2 separate regions of the Homo sapiens genome follow, and region 1 is linked to region 2. The links are contacts of gene promoters, found by promoter capture Hi-C in blood cells and fetal thymus (Javierre and others, 2016). All regions are on one chromosome and are shown on one strand. The core of a region is centred on a gene start or on the middle of the fragment in contact, and the rest is flanking DNA. Distances in the headings are between cores, read along the strand shown.

Region 1 (6,815 bases), core at 2,922-5,421, 840 kb before region 2:
ACCTCTTTGGACATTAGTTTCTTTACCTGTACAGTTAGGAATTTAGGTTAGCCTCTTCTAAGATCTTTTCTAGCTTTGAGTACCCTAATTTTCTTTGTAAAGACACATGACTATCCCAGCAATGCTAAAGGGAATATGCTAGAATTGAGAGAAAAATGTTTGGATGTTAACTCAGTAATTCTTATAAGTGACATGAAAACTAAAGCTTTACTTTAAGAAGTTGTGTCTGTCAGGAATTTTGAAATTTACTTTTTAATATCTGAGTAGTAGAACTAGCTATATAAATCATCTCATCAGCATTTTCAAGTTGAAATTAGGCCAACCTCCTGCCACAAGTGTTTTCGTGGACCTGGCTACTCGTGGACATTGGCTACTCAGTGTACAGCTATTAGTTGTGTAGCCTTGGGTAAAAGTGGCTTTCAAACTTTTTTCAGTATATTTTGCATCATGACCCAATCATGACACACACGAACCACTTTACATCTCTGAAATAAATCTCTCTTACAACACAGAAAATGCTATTTTCTGTTATGTTTCATTTCAAAAAATATTGGTTACAATGTACTGTCCCTTTGAACTCTGGAGGAATACAGTTAAACTTCGACTTTTACAGTTATGCTGGAGCAAAGCTTGCCAACGAATTTGCTGTTAAATATTGAAATTAGAAGATTTTTAAATAGATTTTTATTTGGAACTTTAATAGAAAATCATAGTTAATATCTCCATTAATACTCTTATCTTTTCCTAAATACATAATATAAAGAAAATGGAATATTTTTTACCAAGCCCTGTGAATCTGCCCCTCAGTCTCCTCCTTTTTACTCCAGTCTGCTATACAAGCTTTGTCTTATTTATGCATACCCTATTAGTGAGAACTAATAGACATACCATGACATGAAAAGCATTGAGAAGGCTTTTCTAGAGAACTAGATATAATGTGTCATGTACATTAGATATAGAGTGTCAGATTACCATTGATAAACCCTTTCTTTATCTTCATCACCAGAGTTGTCTCCCAGAGCTCCGTGGAATTTCCTTTCTCTGCTTTAACGTACTTTTAAAAGGTAATTTTACTAAAAAATGCATATGGTAAAAAGATGAAATAATATAAAAGGGCATGTGACAAAATGTTTTTCCCACCCTAATCCCTCAGCCCCACTCCCCAGAAGGGAATTTATTTTTCAAAAAAATGATGAGAGAGAGAGAGAGAGAGAGAGAGAGAGAGAGAGTGTGTGTGTGTGTGTGTGTGTGTGTGTGTGTGTGTGTGTGATCTACCTGAACATCTTTTTAATACATATAAAATTATACCATTATGTATCTACTCTTTTCCTTTTTTTTTTGAGACAGAGTCTTACTCTGTCACCTAGGTTGGAGTATAGTGGCGCGATCTTGGCTCACTGCAACCTCTGCCTTCCAGGTTCAAGCGATTCTCCTGCCTTAGCCTCCCGAGTAGCTGGGATAACAGCTCGGCTAATTTTTGTATTTTTAGTAGAGATGGGGTTTCACCATGTTGGCCGGGCTGGTCTCAAACTCCTGACCTCAAGTGATCCACCTGCCTCAGCCTCCCAAAGTGCTGGGATTGCAGGCGTGAGCCACTGCACCCAGCCTACTTCATTCTTTTTAATGGCTTTATAGTACTTTATTGTGTGGATGGATGTACTGTAACTCAGTTATTCCTCCTTTGATGGATATTTGGATCATTTCCAAGTTAGTTCCCATCCCCTCTCCATCAGACGTACTTATGCTATCAGTCTTCTCCTACCTCCGTTTTGGGATAGAACCCAGAACTGGGGTACTATAGGGAAGGTATAATAGTGCTGTGTGGAAATAGAAAATTCCCTTACCAACTTCTATGTATCAGACTAGGGCTCCAAAACTAGGCCGCACTATCCCAGGCATTCATGGGTCGGGGTGGGTAAGAACTGCCCCAGGAGGAAGTCATTTCTCCTCAGAGCAGTGAAAGAACATTGGGTTCAAAGTCGGGTAACTTGGGTGTGGTATTGGGGTGGGTCACCTGACCTCCTTGAATCCTCAGTTTTACCATCTATAAAATAAGAGATTGAAATAGATGAGTTTTAATGTCCCACCCAACTTCAATATTTATGTAGTATTTTTGTTGGAATATTGATTTAAACTGGATAACCCAAATTATATGAAGTTTCTCATATTTAAATTAAAAACATCTATTGTATATATTGTGTGGTCTGTAATTTATTTGACCTTCCATGTGGCCTAAGCTATTTTAAAGTTTAAGAATGTAAAAAAGGAAAGTTGAATATCATTCTATATTTTACATAAACTATCCTTTTCTCAAAAGTCAATTTCAAAAGTATAAAACCCATTCCAGAATTAAAAGCAAATCCTTTTTATCAAGCTTGAATATTTGAGGAGGAAGATTGTGAAGTTATGTTTGTTTTTAAAATGGATCCTTATAATTTTTCAGTGAGTCCGACCATTCAGAAGTAATCCTAGGGCTTTGAAACTTGGCTTCAGGTTTCTTGTTTAAACTGTTTGCACATTCTAGCCCTTTAATCCATCTCCTTGTTTCGTTAAATGCTAAAACTGACATTACTTAACATAATTAAAGTTTTCAGATTTGATGCTGAGGAAGCTGCTTTAGAGGTGAACTATATCCTGCCAGCAAAGTTACAAAGTTACATGGCAAAGTTATAAAGTAACAAAAGCAGTATTTTTGCTGTATCACACATAGGATATTTAGCATTGGGTAGCATTACCTGTTTCACAGTTTTAGTTTCATAATTCAATCAAATGACAGCTGTTCTAAAGATAAAATGATGTAAGGACTTCAATTGATTTGTGTAATTACAACTGGAAGATAAAAGACATTTTCTTGGCCAATAAGGTAGGAGAGAGAGTTTGTATGTTTGTGTGGTGGTTACCTTAGTTTCTTTGCAGAAGGCTTAATATACCTTGAATATACTTTTCTATAATCTGAGATATTATTATTATTCAAATAATGCTAGATAATTATTAGTGTTCCTTGTTAATTTTCATACGCATTTTTTGACATACAATTCCACTTAGCAAAATGTATCGAAGACCTTCTAGCAGCCAAGCACTGAGTTAAATGCTAGGAGTACCTAGGTAACTGAGACAGTCTTGCTTAGAATCCTCTAAAATGACAACTGCTCCTGTTCCTTGCGTTGTTGGAGCTTTCTAATATCCACTGGTGATTGGAACTTGGCAAAAAATATATATATATTTAAATTCGAATCTGTGAAAATAGATGAAAAGTATGTTTTCAGTGTTTAAAAAGAAGGTCTTAATGTCTTAGTACAGTGTCAGTTACTTTGGAGGCACACTCTTCTGTATGAGGCTCTGCTGGTGACACCAGTTTCTCACTAATTGAACTCTAAGTAATGCTGTGGTGCTTGGACTAATTAATTGAGGCTAAATTTTTGTCTACTAAAACGTATCTGATGTATAAAAAACTGTTGGAATTATTGTGCTTCACCTATTATGATTTTTTAACAATTGCTTATATGAAACCACGCTTGAAAATGGTCACCCTCTGTTTTGAAGATACATCCTGATGGCTTCTTTGTCAAATTACCCCATCCATTGTGGCATGTATAACTAAGGAAATTCTTCATAGTTAGAAATATACAGGATGCTGCTGTCTACAGGATGTTGAACAAACTTTGAAGCATTTGAAGCCATTTTAGGAAAACAGTCCTATGGTGGCAAAATCAGTCAAATAGATTGTAGTTTGAGCTGAAACAGACATTTTAAACGAGAGAAGGGGAAGTCTCATTACCCTGGTCTGTTACGCAGTCCCAGAAGGCACTGCTGTTTCTGCTTTGGAGCCCAGCATTTGGCTAGGGTCCTGTGACACACAGTGGGAATTCACTTCCTATCAGGAAATGCTGTTTTTCAATGTATTATCTTGCTGAGACAACCACAGTGAACAATAGGCTATTAACGTTTTAGAACAACAAGTGTCATGACTAAGCCAATATTTGCTTTGTTTTGAGTATCACTCTAAAAAAAAACTTTGGCTGAGCTTCAGAATACATTTGACCATCAGTAACTGTTGGGCATAAAAGTCATGACAGTTAAAAAGATCAGAAAAAAAATGCTTTAATAGTGGTTATGACCTTTTGCAGGCTTAGCTTACTCTACACACTTCCTGTCCTTAGATGAGAATGAATTATTTTAAACATACCTTTTGGGTATGAAAAATGTCCATTTAAAGACCTATTTTGAGTTTTGGAAGCCATGAATTCAAGTTCTGTAAAACATTAAACTGTCTTACGAGATAGCTTATTCGGTTTACTTCTCTCCACAATTATTAATAAACTGGAAAGTCCTTAAGGGCAGGAATCAGAGCTGTGCCTTAAATAGTCTTTATAACCTTTTTCTAACACCTGAATTAGCATTTGCTGATTGATTGGATCAGTAGTTTCTTTGGTGTTTGAAGATAACATTTTTGTATCATTATTTGTACGTGGTCTCAAAACATGGCGGTAAATATAGATTTTTAGAAATTGCTCTTTTTATGTATGTATTTACTTATTTTAAGTATTTCCAGATACCGATAATGCTCTTCTCATATCTTCACACTTTTTTTGTGTAATTACTTTTCAGTCAGCTTAAGACATTTCATATTCAGGTCACAATATTCATTACCTCAACCATCTTGGATACTTGGCCAGTCTTATCAAACCACGAATAGCCCAGTTTTCAGAGTTTGCTCTAGAATCCCTGTCCTGGTTTATTCTAAGACAAGTAGAGAATGGGGGTATTATGAGTCAAGAGCCTTACTCACCTCAGTGAGTTAATAAACCCTTATTGAGTAACTCTAAGTGGACAGTAAAGAAAGGAAAAAATGTTGACCCAGTTACTTGGAGCCAACAGACATACTCAGATAATTAAAAGGCAATACAGACTATGACAAAGTGATTTGAACACTAAGGTTGCGGGGAGAGCTAAGATGGAGGAACTTAGGAAAGTCACCATGGAAGGGGTTGGCTTTTGAATAAGAATTCAAAGTATGGACAAATATTGGATGGACGGATGGAGATGAGAGGGGAAAACAGTCCAAATGTATGAGATATGGTGAGCATCCTGGCTAACACGGTGAAACCCCGTCTCTACTAAAAATACAAAAAATTAGCCGGGCATAGTGGCTGGCGCCTCTAGTCCCAGCTACTCGGGAGGCTGAGGCAGGAGAATGGAGTGAACCTGGGAGGCGGGGCTTGCAGTGAGCCGAGATCGCGCCACTGCACTCCAGCCTGGGTGACAGAGCAAGACTCCGTCTCAAAAAAAAAAAGAAAATAGAAGAAGAAGTATGGTGAGCAAAGCAACAATCGGGGATGGCTTTTTTTTAGGAAGAGTCATTTCCCTCTAAACCTAATTAATAGGGATGGACTTTGAAGTCTTTCCTATCGTTTTTTCAGGGCCTGAATTTTAGAAGCCCCAGGCTGATAGCTAAGTATTTTTTAAAGATGGGACTTCCTGGATGCTTTTTTATTTCCTTGGGGCAGGGACTGAGGAAATGGTGTTTTTGGAAAACTATAGTAGTTGGCTTTGTGCTTCTTTGTTGCAACCAAGGATCCCAGGGTTGTAGTACTCTTACTACCTTTTAAAGGTTTAAAATAACACTTTCTAGCACTTTACAACTTGACAGAACCTTTCCTAGACAATAGAGATCAAAAGTAGACACAAAATATTTACCAAACTCTGGAGAGCTACTTAAGTTACTAAGCTCCTCATAGATAGCTTTTTATTTGACAATAAAGTACTTGATGTAGGCTTTAAGTACAGCTAAATAGACACTATAGAACTAAGCTGTGAGTCTAGTCTTTGTGAGCCTCAGAAAAACAAGAGTCCTACTTCAAGCTGGAATTTAAAATATAGCAAGCAATTTCAGTGGACCTTTTAGGCATGTGTGAGTGGGCACAAAAAGCTGAGTCATGAAGTTTACTCTTCCTGGTGAATTACCATGAAAGCTTGAAAGAAAAGCACTCTCATTATTTTAAAATAGTAAAAATTGTTTTAGATTCTTATGGAAATAACACCAACAAAATGTTTTGTATATTAATCATGAGCACATACCTAGAAACCCTTTAAAATCAAGAAATTGTAACATGAGGCATTACCTGGCTTTTTAGAGATAAAAGTTAACAGTTTATTTAATGTACAGTAGCACCTGAAATGTGCTTAAAATTGTGCTTACCAAAATCTTTAGTTAAATAAATTTCTAAGTGCAGTTCATGTTTTAAATTTTTCTTATATGAACAGATCATATGGTCTACAGTCTTATGTATCTCATTCTAATGTAGATAAAGTGAAAAGTATTGGGTAAGATAAATTGAGGGACTTGGGACACGTCACTCTCTCTCTCAGGATCTGTTCTACCTTTCTCCATATGAGAAATGAGGTAGAATAAGATTTGATAATATCTTACATCCTTTTAAGCTCTAACATCTTTAAATTCTAAGGATAGTATTCCTCTTTTGGCTCTCATTAGGTAATATCAGGGAAAACAACTCCTCTTGTTGGAAGAGTTCTTATTTATATTTACAAAGCAATGTTGTTTCTCTACAATCCTAACAAACGTATGAAAGTTATTCTTTGTTGTTTTAAAGTCTGCATTTCTGTTGTTTTTGATAAACTTTCCTCCATAAATTAAATAGTTAATTAGTTTAATGTTTTCTCTTTTTCCTGAATTTGATATTAGACTTCTCAGGTCTTTTTCCAGATTTTCTCACTTTTTATTGAGAGTTCAGTTTCCAGCAGTGGACTGGAGACTTGGGTTGTTGTCTCTTTATCTTCTCATTATTTCCAGTTTC
Region 2 (6,391 bases), core at 1,233-3,732:
CCAGGAGTTGACACTCATAAACTATGCTGACATCAGTACACTTTACTGCAGAAAGTCATTGCATCAGCTCCAAGAATAGGCAAAGTAGCAGCAACACTTTATTAAAGGTAGTCAATGTTGCCAACCCAAGGCACTAACACATACTCTATACACACAGGATTAAATGCTACCCTCTTCTTTGTAGGACACTGGAGAGGGGTAAGCATGCTAAGAAGTGAGATGGATTTAACCAGCAACTCACGGCAAAGTGCGTATAGCTGCGTTTGAGAAGGCTTAGTCATGACTAGAAAAGTGTGAATACTGTGACATATCCTTGCAAAAAAAATGTTCAGCTTAAGCCTCTAGACTAACTTCTGGTTTACAAGAAGAAAAAAGAGGGGCCCATTTCCAAAAAGACTCCTGCCTTGAACTCTTCAAAATGCCAATGTCACAGGGGGAAAAAAGATGGGGGAACTCTACTACATTAAAGCTAAAGAAAAATTTTGACTGGATCCTGATTTTTTTTTTTTTTTTTTTTTTTTGCAGGATTGGGAAGGAGAAGGTATAAAAGATATTCCTGGGTAAATTAGGAAAATTAGCACTTGGCCTAGATTTTAAAAGTTACAAAACAGCTGAAATAATGATATTGTGTTTTGCTGGAGAACTTCAAAATTCTTAGGAAATTCATGCTGGAAATCTTAAGGGTGTCTTGCCTAACAATAAGTGTCTGCAACTTTTTATGACAATGAAAAAGTGGGGAGGAATGAAAAAAAATGGCAAAATGTTAACTGCTGCATATAGATGATGGGTACATGAATATTCATTAAATTATTTCTTTCAGCTTTTAAATATATGAACACTTTCATAATAAAACACTGGGGAAAAAAATCATGTCAGAAAGACTTCACAGGGGAAACGTAAAACAAAGATTGAGTAGCAGGCGCTCAGCTGAATTTCTGATAAATTGAAGGTCTCTAAAACTTGGCTGGAAGTGTCTTGGGCATCCAAGAGACACCCGATATATTCAAACTTTCAGTAAGTATTTACCAAAATAATATCATGTGCATGGTGAAAATGACGGGAAGACGAATCTGATACAAACCATTCTATTTAGGTGCAGACATGGTAGTGAAGCTAAAAACATAAGCGCTATTATATATATATAACATACTGATTGTCATAAAAGATGTACAAAAAATGCTAAACTCAGAGGAAATTACTTCCTGCTGGGAAGAATCTGGAAACACATCTCCACGGGTAACAGAATCAGATACAGAATCACAAAAGGTGACTGCTACAACAGATTTCAGTAATTAACAGCAAAGAAACAAGAGTAGTTCATTTTGGCTGGCGTGTAAGTACTAAGGAAGCAGAAATTAAGTCGAGAAGGTAGGTTTGCATCTGTATTGTTGACTGGCTGGATATTAACCATTTTCAATTTTACCTGAAAGTTCTGGTCTTTTTGCTGCAGCTTTAAGCATCCAACCCGGTATTACCAAGATGACTTAGAGTTCTTGACTCAAGCATACAGAAGAAACTACAAGATAATGTATGATAACTTTGTAAAGGGCCATATAAAAGCAATACAGTATTTTCAAAAATCTTCAACACGTTGTTTAAGAAACTGTAGACCTGCAGGAATCCCACCACCAGAACCGCAGTCAAAGCTTACAAAGACTCAAAGGAGAGACGCGGAAAGGGGGGAAAAATCAGAATGGGAAGGCAGGTGGCAGGGGAAAAAGATTGAGGTCCTGCCCTGGTGGTAGGGGCTCATCTTTTCCTTTTATAGGTGAAGGTGGAAAATGATTTTCTGAAGTTCCCGAATTCTCCTCCCTCCAAAGGCCAAGGAGTGAAAGTACTTAATAGGAACTTGCGGAGGCGTGGTCAAGAGCTCCGTTTTGCCGGAGTTAGGAGCTCCGCCCCGAGGTCCCCGCCCATTCCCCGCTGGGGTCCTCCCGGCCGGGCTGCCTCTGGCTGGGTTAGGGCGGCCTGTAGAGCGGCCTCACCCCACAGGGAGCCTCACGGGGGCGGGCCGCCGCCAGGCCAGCCCGGAAAAAAACCGCCTTCCAACGGAAGCGGCCCTGAGCCCCGCTCGCCATTTCAGCGCTCTGTCCCACAGGGACCGTCCGGCCCGGGTCCGGCCCACTGGTTGGGGTCCACGGACTCACCTCACTTTGCAACTAAGGTCAAAAATAAGCATTCCCTGGGGCACGGGCGGCCAGGCTATTAACACCCTTCCGCCATGACCCAATTCGGAAGTGCCAAATGCAACTTCCGGGCAGGAGAGGGAATTTCGGAGCCCTAAACTGTTGTCCATCTCCGTAAGTGACCAGACGTCTCAGTAAAATAAGGGCCAGGAAACTGGACGTGTAATCCGGAGTATGAATTAACTTGTCTAACATGGGATGTGTGGTCACCCACGGTACCTCTTTGGGCTTACTTACAGATGCATCCCTTCCCAGACGGCTCAGCTGTTGCCCCGGGTAACGGTGAGACTGGCGAAGGAAAAAAATCTACGTCACCCTGGAAACAGGAAGCCAGGAATCTCCTTTTGCCATTATCAGTTATGGCCGCCTTAGCTTCAACAGTAACTTCCGATCGGGGAGTTGTCACTCTACCCTGCTGGAGGCTTACTCTGTAGCCCGGCTAGCCAGAGGCGCCCAGTGGGCGGGAGACGGCGTAGAGGAACTGAGGAAAGGACAAGGGCGGAGAGAGAGAAGCTGGCGGCACTGCCCGTCTCTGATTGGGCAGCTTCTCTTGCCCCGGTTCCGCCCATTTTTCTTGCCTAGCGAGTGACGGGCCCACGGCAGAGGGGTGGGGCGGGGAGGCTGGAGCGAGAGTAGTGGCGGGGCGGGCGGGGCGGGGCGAGTGGGGGAGGGGCGGGCGGGGGGCGGCGGTTGGGCAGCGTCGCTTCTTAGGAGGAGGAGGAAGAGGAGGAAGGAGGGCGAGCGAGGAGGATGGCGGAGTCGGGGCTCCTGACGGTAACTCGGGGCCGATGAGGCGGAGGGTGTCTGTTGGTCGGTTCTTCCTGCCTGCCTTCCTGTCCGTCGGGCAGTCGGGCTGGCTGTCGGTAGGGGGAGGCCCCGTGCGCCCTGACAGGCGCGAGCCGGCAGCGCCGGGGCGAGGCCCGAGGGGCCGGGGCCCTGGGAGGCGCCGCCGCCGCCGCTTTCCTGGTTGCTGTCTCCGGGAGTGCGGGGCCCTTGGAGCCGGCTCGCGTGGGAGCCTGCAGCCCGGCGCGGAGAGGAAGGCGGTCGGGTGTGACAGCGGCCGGGGCCGGGCCTGCGGCGGCGGCGGCGGGCGGCCCGGACAGCGCCTGGGCGACGGCGAGCCGGCGCGAGGGCGCGGGCCGGGGGCCCCCGGCGGACAGTCTCTCTCCTCTCGGCTCCCTGGGCCCCCGGGCCCAGTCCGCAGGGCGCCCCGAGTCGTGTAAATCGTTGGCGAGGGCCCGGGCGCAGCGGCGGTCATACAGGGTGGGGTCTCTTCTCGCCCCCTCCCTGGAGTCCACCTTGCTCTCCCGTTCTCCTCTCCCTAAAAACCCTTGAGTGAAGAGTGCTGGATCGGCTCTGGGTGTGTTGCCTAGCGAAGCGAGTTGTAGCCCTTCGAGACCGCCTCGTAGAACATGCCCGATGGCAACCTCTCCCCGTGATAGCACAGCTTTTAGGGAGAGAGGAAAAGTAGTCTCACTCTTCCCCGACTTCCCCAGGCTCATAACACAAGAGGCTTTGGGGCAAGACGATTTTTCCCCCAGCACCTCAATATCCATTGTTTTTGTACCATCCCCCTCCCCCCATGCCTAGGTGGAAGAGTAATGACTCCAAAGCATTAACTTGCCTTTCTCTTTATTTCTTTTCTTTCTTTTTCTTTTCTTCCTTCCTTTCTTTAAGCAGGCAGTTTGTGTTATTGTGGAATTATGGATTTACAAACAGGTGGAATAAATACCGATTCGGGAGCTAGAAAGAAGATGCTTTGTGTGTGTGTTTAAGCCCTTACAGTTGGCAGTTTGATTTTTCTTGTCTGTTGCTTTGTATCGTAATGGGGGTGATGAGAATAAAAGAGGAAGCACTGTTTTGCAACCTACCCAAAGAAATATTTTCGAAGTCTCTGGGGATGCTGAAGCAAAATTAGGTTGCAGATGTGGACTGTATAGTATTTGCCTCCAGCGTGATAACTACCAGCAGTGTCTAGGCTTACACCTGTGCCATTTCGTATACTTTTCTTAGATACCGAGTGCGTCTAGTTTCTACTCAAGAGGGACTACTATATCAAAAGCTTTTTGTTACGGTTTTCAGAATCCTAAGGTACATTTGTGTAACCAAGTGTTTTTGTAACTAAATGCAGCAACACCACTGAAAAATAGTTTTAATTTTAAAGACCTCAATTTATTAGTGTACTTACTAATCTTTACCCTCATCCTCCATGCTGTGGACTGTAGAACTGTTACTGTGTACTTGAAGAGACTTAGCTATTGCATCCAATTTGTAACATTCAGTAAGGTTATATTTATAATTTGAATTTATCAAGTGTTGATGTTTTGCTGTGTGACAGTGAAAAGAATTTTAGGAATAAAGTATGCAAATGACCATTCGCCACATATGGAACTTAGACTGAGTATGATAAGCCTTTTGTCTTTATTTGGACATAAAGTATATTGTAAACTTTTTATGTAATTATAAATACACATTTGAAAAATAGACAAAAATAAACACAAAACTGAATAAAAGTTTTGTCTAAGGTTTGTAACTTTCAAATGTCTGAAATTTAATATAAAGCCAACATATAAAACAATATTGAAATCCCAGTTTCAAATTATGGACATGTCTTTAAGGGTACTGCATTTTCCCAAGGTGCTTGTTCAGTTTTATTTTTAGTTTTTAATTGTTATGGGTACATAGTAGGTTTTTATGGGTTATATGAGATATTGATACAGGCATACAATGCATAATAGTCACATTAGAGTAAATGAGGTATCCCATCATCTCAAGCATCTACCCTTTGTGATACAAATATCCAATTATACTCTTAGTTATTTTAAAATGTGCAATTAAATTTATTGAGTATGGTCACCCTGTTGTGCTATGAAATACTGGATCGTATTCATTCTGTTTTTTTATATCCATTAACCATCCCCACATTCCCCCTTCAGTTTTTGAGGAAACAGCTACATTAAAAGTTGACATTTGTTTTCTGATCGCTCATTATTAATATAATTTTTAAGTTCAAAAAATTTTCTCATAAATTATTATGGATTAAAGAGTGATATTAAAATATACATTAATAGTTTGCAGCTAGATCTTTTTTTTTTAGTTTTTAAACTACCGTATTCAGAAAGTTCATCAGAGCTGTTTTTCTGGTAGTTGTAGCAAGTAAAAGGTCATGCATCAACTTCTGAACTACAAGCCAGTTGGAAATTTGAAACATTTCATGTTTAAATAGAAACATGAAAATTACAAATTCCTTTGTCACACTTGCTGGAATTACGCCTTTAAAATGTTACTCTTTTTTCTGTGACTTGGGTCAGGGAAGAATGACTTTTCTCTTTCCACATCAGAGAGACATAAACTGGAATTCTATGTGGAATGTTTCCAAAGATGGCTTCCGAGTAGTGATTGGTATAGTTATTGCTTTGGCTTACCTGTATGAATTATGGAGGATGGGTGAATAAACTTGAAATTCTTTATTATACAGGTGGATAAATTATAGTTATATTTGCCTTAAAAATATGCTCATTTTCAATATTTGTTGTATCATTTAATATTTCTGGAAGACTTCTTTAAACTTCAGATATTTTGATTTTTTTGTAAAAATATTTAAATACAGAAATCTGTGTTTTAACTAAAAGATACAAACTCTATATGTAGATATAAGGATGCATATTTTTGGAGGCTGAAGATTAAGTGAAATGTATCTTTAGAATTTGGTTTACTATATGATTCATGTATCTTTCATGTATGAAAAAGCCTTAAGATTAATGCTTATAACAAAATAAGATTTTAAAAAACCCCAAACAATAAAAAACAACAAAACAAGTTAACTCACAAATCCTTCAGTGAGTTCTGAGATTTATAACTTAGACTTGGAAGAATTTTGCTACTCGTTTATAAAATATCAATTAACAGAGGAAATTTAAATATAAATTGGATATTTTGACATTTCTTAATGAGACTAGTAGGGATTGGTATTTTGCTATAGATGAATAAATGGAAACTGTAATTTATCAGTAGAATTATACATTAAGTACTTTTATGTGATACTTAAATGAGTACTTCAAATATTAAGTGAGTTGGTATTTTTGCTTGTTGGTAGACCTGTATTTCATGCATTATGTGTTGTGCATTAGACATATAAGTTGGCTGAATCTTAGACTAATTAATGGACATATATCATCTGCTATCCTTGTAATCCCCTATTTTAA

What was found. The method cuts DNA at HindIII sites, captures the fragments that hold promoters and counts their contacts. A CHiCAGO score of 5 or more calls a contact.
Region 1: a fragment that was not itself captured here is called in contact with the fragment with the promoter of BBIP1 in region 2 in 1 of 17 cell types (neutrophils); the score reaches 5.4 in neutrophils.

The regions. Positions count from the first base shown.
Region 1 is chr10:110,078,234-110,085,048 of GRCh38, forward strand. All of the region lies in intron 1 of ADD3 (adducin 3), which reads left to right. Among named protein-coding and RNA genes, the nearest start is that of ADD3-AS1, 73 kb to the left of the region's middle. The HindIII fragment of the contact is 3,598 bases long and covers 2,373-5,970 here.
Region 2 is chr10:110,916,698-110,923,088 of GRCh38, forward strand. It overlaps BBIP1 (BBSome interacting protein 1), which reads right to left and starts at 2,483. Exons shown (of 4, transcript NM_001195305.3): 1 at 2,424-2,483; 2 at 1,424-1,516. The coding sequence starts at 1,460. SHOC2 (SHOC2 leucine rich repeat scaffold protein) reads left to right here and starts at 2,907. Exons shown (of 9, transcript NM_007373.4): 1 at 2,907-2,960. RefSeq lists silencers at 1,817-1,976, 2,827-3,266, 3,277-3,366 and enhancers at 2,108-2,647, 2,337-2,536, 2,557-2,606. The HindIII fragment of the contact is 2,602 bases long and covers 1,645-4,246 here.